3 separate regions of the Homo sapiens genome follow, and all the other regions are linked to region 2. Evidence: promoter capture Hi-C in human tissues and cell types (Jung and others, 2019). All regions are on one chromosome and are shown on one strand. Each heading gives the region's core, a stretch centred on a gene start or on the middle of the fragment in contact. The rest is flanking DNA. Distances are from core to core; before and after follow the strand shown.

Evidence for each region. The method cuts DNA at HindIII sites, captures the fragments that hold promoters and counts their contacts. A contact is called where the count stands out against the background at its distance.
Region 1: a fragment that was not itself captured here is called in contact with the fragment with the promoter of MXD4 in region 2 in 1 of the 25 tissues and cell types used here (dorsolateral prefrontal cortex).
Region 3: a contact is called between a fragment that was not itself captured here and the fragment with the promoter of MXD4 in region 2, in 1 of the 25 tissues and cell types used here (spleen).

What each region holds. Positions count from the first base shown.
Region 1 is chr4:2,874,051-2,876,750 of GRCh38, reverse strand. ADD1 (adducin 1) reads right to left here. Exons shown (of 16, transcript NM_001354761.2): 2 at 641-855. The coding sequence starts at 835. Among named protein-coding and RNA genes, the nearest start is that of ADD1, 32 kb to the right of the region's middle. RefSeq lists enhancers at 1,082-1,607, 1,608-2,135. The HindIII fragment of the contact is 5,115 bases long and covers 1-2,700 here.
Region 2 is chr4:2,260,762-2,263,461 of GRCh38, reverse strand. MXD4 (MAX dimerization protein 4) reads left to right here and starts at 1,353. Exons shown (of 6, transcript NM_006454.3): 1 at 1,353-1,545; 2 at 1,638-1,737. The coding sequence starts at 1,482. RefSeq lists enhancers at 1-340, 341-1,002, 2,234-2,700 and silencers at 634-1,473, 1,524-1,583, 1,674-2,063, 2,074-2,133. The HindIII fragment of the contact is 28,165 bases long and covers 1-2,700 here.
Region 3 is chr4:2,953,472-2,956,171 of GRCh38, reverse strand. It overlaps NOP14 (NOP14 nucleolar protein), which reads left to right. Exons shown (of 18, transcript NM_001291978.2): 4 at 1,609-1,748; 5 at 2,527-2,661. Among named protein-coding and RNA genes, the nearest start is that of NOP14, 8.6 kb to the left of the region's middle. The HindIII fragment of the contact is 8,016 bases long and covers 1-2,700 here.

The sequences.
Region 1 (2,700 bases), core at 160-2,659, 610 kb before region 2:
TCTCCTGCCTCAGCCTCCCGAGTTGCTGGGACTACAGGCGCCCGCCACTACGCCTGGCTAATTTTTTTTTGTATTTTTAGTAGAGATGGGTTTTCACCGTGTTAGCCAGGATGGTCTCGATCTCCTGACCTCGTGATCCACCCATGTTGGCCTCCCAAAGTGCTGGGATTACAGGCGTGAGCCACCGCGCCTGGCCAATTTTTGTATTTTTAATGGAGACAGGGTTTCACCGTGATGGCCAGCCTGGTCTCGAACTTCTGACCTCAAGTGATCCACCCACCTCGGCCTCCCAAAGTGCTGGGATTACAAGCTTGAGCCGACGCACCCAGCCTAAGCTAGGTATTTTTTTAATTGTAATTTAAAAATTGCCCCAATATATAAGGACCCTCTAGAAAAGTCACAAGAGTAAAAAGGAGAAATTAACACTTCCTATCCTTTACGACACTGAAGATTTTTCATTTATGATGTCTGATAACATGAACTGAACTGAATTCTTTCAACAACCATATACGTATACTCAAGGCACTGATTTCCTGTGATAAGATCAATGAACTATGCCACTCATACAACAGGGCATAAGACCTGAAGTATTAGAAAAGGAAAGATGACATCTGGTCAGAGAAAAGACTTCTCTTCTCACAGGGCTTTGCAGAATCATGGACACCCTCTTCTTTTGCTCCATCATGTTGAAGTCCTGGCGAAGGTCTGGTGCCATGTTCCTCTCCCTCAAGTACTCTGGGTTGTTCTCATCTACTCGGTCGAAGTACCTCTCCTTGTGAGGGGCTGTGGTCGGGGGTGGTGAGGTCACCACCGCAGCACGAGAATCACCATTCATTGTACAATCTTTCTAGGTTCCTACAGAATCAAAATAAAAGAAATTATTGTTTTCAAATCAATGTCTAACAGTGTTTCATGATGAGCACATGAGCTTGGTAAACACAATCTTCAACAGGAGGATGTAATGACCAACTGACAGTGGAAACCATGACCTGTGAGGCTTCTTTGTGGCCTCAGAGGCACATGGCTGATCAACCACCTCCCACCCTCCCACTAACCAATGCTGTGTTTTGTCCTAGCCATTGTTCCAAAGAGGAGAACAAGACAACAATCTAACAAAGCAATTAAGTCCTCTGACAAATCCAAAAAGAACTAAATATTAAACTTTTGACCACGTGATTCTTTACAGACATGATTTGTTCCACACAGACAAGATCTGCTAAGAACAGCACAGTTTATTCCAAAAGAAATTTGATTTCTGATTTTTTTTCCCATAAGGTACCAGCAGTGGTTTTGCAAAGGATCCCACAAACAGATCAACAGAAGAGAAGCCACTCACACATAACTCACAAAATGGTAAATGTTCCTCCCTAACAGCTCCTTTCTGGTTAAAAGAACAATGGCAGGTACCAGCAATTTGAGGTCAAGATGCTCAGTTTGTTAATAACCTAACATGCCAAGATGGCTCAAATTTAAAATTCTGTGAATATGGCTACTGACATTACATTCTTTTCTCGGGGGGAGGGGAACAGGGTCTTGTTCTGCCACCGAGGCTGGAGGGCAGTGGCCCAGTCACAGCTCACTGCAACCTCAACCTCCCAGGCTCAAGTGATCCTTCCACCTAAGCCTCCCAAGCAGCTGGGACTATCAGCGTGCACCGCCATGCCCGGCGAATTTTTTAAAAATTTTGTAGAGATGGGGGTATCCCTGAGTTGCAGAGGCTGGTCTCAAACTCCTGGCCTCAAGCAATCCTCTCACCTTGGCCTTCCAAAGTGCTGGGATCACAGGCATGAGCCACCACGCCCTGTTAGCTTTCAAATGTGCATATGAACCACCTGGGAATTGAATTAATACACAAATTAAGATTCATTAGGTCTGGAGTGGGGCCTGAAATTCTGCATGTCTCATCAATTCCCAAGTGATACCAATGCTGCTGAACTTGAACCGCACTTTGGATAACAAGCCTATAAAGTAGAGTTTATTATGCAAAAAAGATATTTTTATTGTGGAACCAATAACCAAAGAATCAGTTGAAGAAATTAGTGTTTTTTTTTAAGAAAAAGATCAATTTGATATTTCTGTTCTAAATGTAAAGATAAGATAAAAATATGCTTAAAGTGGCAGTATTTCTTTCTTTTTTTTTTTTTTTGAGACAGTCTCACTCTGTCGCTCATTCTGGAGTGCAGTGGCATGATCTCGGCTCACTGAAACCTCCGCCTCCCAGGTTCAAGTGATTCTCCTGCCTCAGCCTCCCGAGTAGCTTTGATTACAGGCACGTGCCACCACACCCGGGTAATTTTTGTATTTTTAGTAGAGACGGCGTTTCACCATGTTGGCCAGGCTGGTCTCGAACTCCTGACCTCAGGTGATCCGCCCGCCTAGGCCTCTCAAAGTGCTGGGATTATAGGCGTTAGCCACCGCCCCCAGCCACTACTTCGAGAACTTAAAGGCAAAACATGAAAACAATTGGGGGACTAAACATCAACATAGAATAAACGAACTAATGACCTCAGTGGAATCTTTTTTCTCTTTGTTTTTGAGACAGAGCCTTATTCTGCCACCCAGGCTGGAATGCAGTGGTGCAATCATAGCTCACTACAGCCTGGAACTTGTGGGCTCTCAAGCCATCCCACTGCCTCAGCCTCCTGCATAGCTGAGACTACAGGCCCACATCACCACACCTGGCTATTTTTTTTTTAGTTC
Region 2 (2,700 bases), core at 104-2,603:
CCACCAACCTCAAAAATCAAATCAGTGAGATGGGTCGGGCGAGGTGGCTCACACCTGTAATCCCAGAACTTTGGGAGGCCGAGGCGGGCGGATCACGAGGTCAGGAGATCCAGACCATCCATGGTGAAACCCCATCTCTACTAAAAATACAAAAATTAGCTGGGCGTGGTGGCACGCGCCTGTAGTCCCAGCTACTTGGGAGGCTGAGGCAGGGGAATCGCTTGAACCCGGGAGGCGGAGGTTGCAGTGAACTGACATCACGCCACTGCATTCCAGCCTGGGCAACAGAGCCGTCTCAAAAAAAAAAAAAAAAAAAATCTGCGAGAGGGTGGGGGGTGCCGAGGCCAGTCTGGGCCAGCCTTAGGGTCAGGGGTCACTAGGGAGACCCGCCAGCTGGGATTTGATGAAGGGTTCACTCCCGTCCCCACTTAGGGCGTCCTCGGCCAGAGGTGGCCAGCGCCTGCCTCTAGGAACGTCCCTGCCCCTCAGGCCAGACACAGAGCATGCAGCCCCCCACTCCGGGGAGCCTCTCGACTCTGGCCGCACGTCTGTGTCCCTTCCCCAGACCTGGGCCCTCCCTCAGCTCCGGCGTCCACTGGGCGATCTGAGGAGCCCGCCCGCTCTGGGCCTGTTTCCCCACTGACACCCTCAGAGACGCCTGGCTCTTAGGATCAGAGCGTCTGCGTCCCTCTCCGAGGTCCCGGCCCTTCCCGGGGCCACTCTGCGCCCGGCGGGGAGGGGAGTCGTTCACGGCCCCACGCAAGACCCCCGGGCAGAGCGCGAGGCCTCGTCCCCCCACGCAGCCACTGCTTTCGTCGCGCTCAGACCCGGCGGCCCGGCCCGGCCCGGCGCACGCCCCGGAGCGCCCTGCTTCGCTCTCGTAGCGGAGACGCTCCTGCGTCCTAACGGGCCCCCAGGACGGCGGGCGGTCCCCGCGCGCTGCGCTTCCTCTCGGCAACGCGTCCGGCTGCGGCGCCCTCATTGGCCGCGCGCCCCGCCACCGGCCATTGGCTCGCAGTGCCTGTTTTACATAGGCCGCTCTGGCCAATCGGCGCGCGGCGCCTACTTAACATGCACGGCGGCCGCCAGTCAGCTAGCGCGGGGGCCGGGCCACCACGTGCTGTTGCTAAGCTCGGGCTTCTAAATTGTTACTAGCGCGGCCGGCCTATCCCAGCCCAGCTCTGCATCTGTCAACATTCTCGGCCCGGCCCGAGGCGCTCGACCCGTCCCCATTGGCCCCAGCCCGGCCCGGCGCCCGCCCCCGGGGCGCGAACGCCGCCTCCCATTGGCTCTGCGGGCCGCCGCTCTCCCTTATGTGTCAATTTGAGGGCCTGAGGCGGAGGGTGGCGGCCGAGCGCCGGAGTCCGCGGAGTCTGGAAGTGCGGCGGCCGGGCGCGCGGGGTGGGCGGCGAGCGGAGCCGGCCGGAGCGGGCCGGGCAGCGGCCGCCGCCGTCCCGGGGCGGACGGGCGCGGGCGGGAGGATGGAGCTGAACTCCCTGCTGATCCTGCTGGAGGCGGCCGAGTACCTGGAGCGCAGGGATCGAGGTAGCGCTCGCACCCCATTGTGCGCCCGCGGCGGTGGGCGGGCGGCGGGGCCGTGCCGGGCGGGGGCCGCTGACCGCGCCGTGTGTCCGCAGAGGCCGAGCACGGCTACGCCTCGGTGCTGCCCTTCGACGGCGACTTCGCCAGGGAGAAAACAAAGGCGGCCGGCCTGGTGCGCAAGGCCCCGAACAACAGGTACCGCCCCCCGCTCCCGACCCCGCCCGGCCCGGTCCGAACCCCCGCCCCCGCCCGGAGCGTGCTCTCCGGGCCCCGATTCCCGGCCCGCGGCCCTCAGCGCCGCCGCCGCGCGCCCCGGCGGCCAGCCTGGAGGAGGAGGCGCGCAGGCCGCGGCCGCAGCCCCGCCCGGCCGGCCCCGCCCTCGCCGTCGCCATCTTCCCGCGGCCGCGCCTCCCGGGCCGCTCGCGTAAACAGTGCCACGCGTACAGCGCCCGCCGCCGGGGTCCGCTCCCGCGCCCGCTCCCCGCCCCCGAGTTGTTCTGGACTTTTCCAGGCGGTAGAAAAGTTGTCAGCGGGCGCTGGCCGGTGCCCCGTGGGTCTGGGGAAACAGGCTCAGCCAGGGTCTGCGGGGGCTGCCGGCCCTAACCCCTTCTCTCCGCGGGTGGGTGGGCGGCCTCCTTTCGACTGGCTCTGCCAGCCGAACTCTGCTGCTCGGCCACCTTCCCCCGCCCCCAGGAGCCTAGACAGAGAAGCGAGTGGAGGCGCTGTCCTGGGCCCTCACTCCTCCCAGGGTGCCCACCGCTTCTGCCCAGCCTCCTGACACAGCGAAACTCCAGCCACCAGTATGGGGGTCCTCTTTTTTAAGACAGAGGCCTTTTAAGGGGGCGGGAGGAGGGGGCAGGCTGCAGGGCAGGGGCCCCATGAAGTCGTTACTACGGGTGCCAGCTGCGCCCTCCATACCTTGACCTCGTGTTCAGGCAGCAGAAGCCCTGAAGCTGGGGTGCGTACAGGTCCCCCGCGTGGGGAGTGGGGACCCTGGGCCGGGGCTCCCCGGGGATTTCCACCCTCCTGGCTGCTGTGAGGACCATAGCACACCTGGTCCTGTCTGGGCCCACCTTGGCCCAGCCCTTTTGTGTGAGCAGGCTGGGAGCTGCGTTTGTAGGGGGCTTCAGAGCCCCAGGGCATGGCTCATTCCTGTGG
Region 3 (2,700 bases), core at 170-2,669, 690 kb before region 2:
AGCCTCATATCTGTAGATAACAACATGAAACAGATAAATTTTGGCCTTAAATAATGTTAACAGAGTTTAAGATTCAGTTCGGGTCTGACTGTCTTGAACCCTATTTATAAGGTTGCAGTCATGACATCAATTACTTGACATTTCTTGTAAGTTAAAGTAGGTCCCATTTCCAGCATCTTCAGAACAAAGGTGTACAAATCTAAAACTGACTCTCAAAGCTTTGTCTTGTCAGTGTGTGAAAGTTAAGGCGTTAAAGCCTGGGGCTGCCTTCTGATATTTGGCTAATCCAGGGGGTAAAAGGCTTAGGAATTAGGGCAGCAAGCATGTGGTGCAGAACCCGCCATCTGCGGCACACCAGGAGGCCCCGCCACTGCTCGGCTTCACGGGCGTGAAGAGAATGGCCAGTTATTTTAACCCCTCTGTGCCTTTGTCTTTGCTCTTTTCATTGTTCAAGACTTCTCGTGGACCCTTAGCTATAAAACGCATTCCCTGGGGAGATCCTAATTCCCCGAGACTGGAGGTAACTGCCTTGGTGTGAGTTGGGCGAGTGGCCTTCCCCTCATTGCCAGGAGGCGCTGTGGCGCAGGTGACTAGAGGGGGCGCCGTGGCGTGCAGGTGACTAGAGGGGGCGCCGTGGCGTGCAGGTGACTAGAGGGGGCGCTGTGGTGCAGGTGACTAGAGGGGGCGCCGTGGCGTGCAGGTGACTAGAGGGGGCGCTGTGGTGCAGGTGACTAGAGGGCGCCGTGGTGCAGGTGACTAGAGGGGGCGCCGTGGCGTGCAGGTGACTAGAGGGGGCGCCGTGGTCCAGGTGACTAGAGGGGGCGCCGTGGCGTGCAGGTGACTAGAGGGGGCGCCGTGGCGTGCAGGTGACTAGAGGGGGCGCTGTGGTGCAGGTGACTAGAGGGCGCCGTGGTGCAGGTGACTAGAGGGGGCGCTGTGGCGTGCAGGTGACTAGAGGGGGCGCCGTGGTCCAGGTGACTAGAGGGGGCGCCGTGGCGTGCAGGTGACTAGAGGGGGCGCCGTGGGGTGCAGGTGACTAGAGGGGGCGCTGTGGCGCAGGTGACTAGAGGGGGCGCCGTGGCGCAGGTGACTAGAGGGAGCGCCGTGGCGTGCAGGTGACTAGAGGGGGCGCCGTGGCGTGGAGGTGACTAGAGGGGGCGCCGTGGCGTGCAGGTGACTAGAGGGGGCGCCGTGGTACAGGTGACTAGAGTCTCCAGGCCCTGCCCAGGGAGGTGGGAGGGACACAGATTGCACCACTGATCCTGGGCGACGCTCCCACCAAGACCCTGGAGTCAGCTTGCTCTGGGTTTGCCAGTCTTCGCTAGAACCAGCACAATCAAAAATAGGTGCTGGGTGTTTCCAGCCACTTGGGTTACGGCCAGTTGGGAGTGTAATGGGTCTGGGTTTTCTCAGAGTGGCTTACCTTGGGTATTTCTCAAGTGCCATTGTGCCTGTGGTCTCAGGCCAGGCTGTTGCGTGTGAGCATTTTTTTCTCAAATGTGGACTTTTCCAGACCACTATGGGGGAAGCACTGGCAGAGTGCTACAGGAAACACTTCCCACGCCAGGGCTGGGCTTCACTGTGGGGTTTTCTGCCTTTTGCCCCCAGCTGAGCTGACTGCTGCCCACTTTGGAGGAGGCGGTGGGCTCCTTCACAAGAAGACTCAACAGGAAGGCGAGGAGCGGGAGAAACCGAAGTCCCGGAAAGAGCTGATTGAAGAGCTCATTGCCAAGTCAAAACAAGAGAAGGTGGGTTAGTGAGTGTTCTTGATCATCTTCTCCACGGTAAGACAGGCTCACCAAAATGTGTTTGAGCTTTTTTTTCCTGTACCTTTTTAGGCTGTGTTTAATATTTTATATGAGTTCAGTAAAAGCATTTATTGTGAGTAGGAATTTTAAAAATCACATAAAGCATATACCTCGGACAGGTTTTGGTTCTTTTGCCTTTTTTTGGTTTATGTTTTGTTTTATTTTGAGACGTAGTCTCTGTTTCCCGGGCTGGAGTACAGTGGCACGATCAAAGCTCACTGTGGCCTCAAACTCCTGGGCTCAAGGATCCAGTGATCCTCCCACCTCAGCTCCCCAAGTAGCTAGTGGGCGCCACCATGCTCAGCTAATTACTTTTTGTAGAGATGGGGATCGTGCTGTGTCGACCAGGCTCAAGCAGTTCTCCCACCTTGGCCTAGTTCTAAAGCACAGGGTGGGCCACTGCACCTGGCGCGGATGGGTTTTTTGTTGTTGCTGGTTTTAGTATCTGACATGTGCCCAAAAAATCACTTTTTTATTCATTTGCAGTGAACTGCTCAGAGCATCTAAATTAATGGTTTATGGCAGGAAAAGATTTCCGTCTGATGAGATTTGGTAGCTTTGCATTTAAAATACTCATTTCTCCTGGCCTCTTTTCTGTGTTGAAACGTTTGGTGCCAACTGAGTGATCACTGTGTGTGTCCTTGGCACTGACATTGGGCCTCTGGGTTGAAGTCCAGTAGTAACGGTATGTGGTGTGTGTCTGTTATTTTTTCCCCAGAGGGAGAGACAAGCTCAACGAGAAGATGCCCTCGAGCTCACGGAGAAGCTAGACCAAGACTGGAAAGAAATTCAGACTCTCCTGTCCCACAAAACTCCCAAGTCAGAGAACAGAGACAAAAAGGAAAAACCCAAGGTGGGAGCCAAGTACTGAAACAAACTCTTCACTCACTGA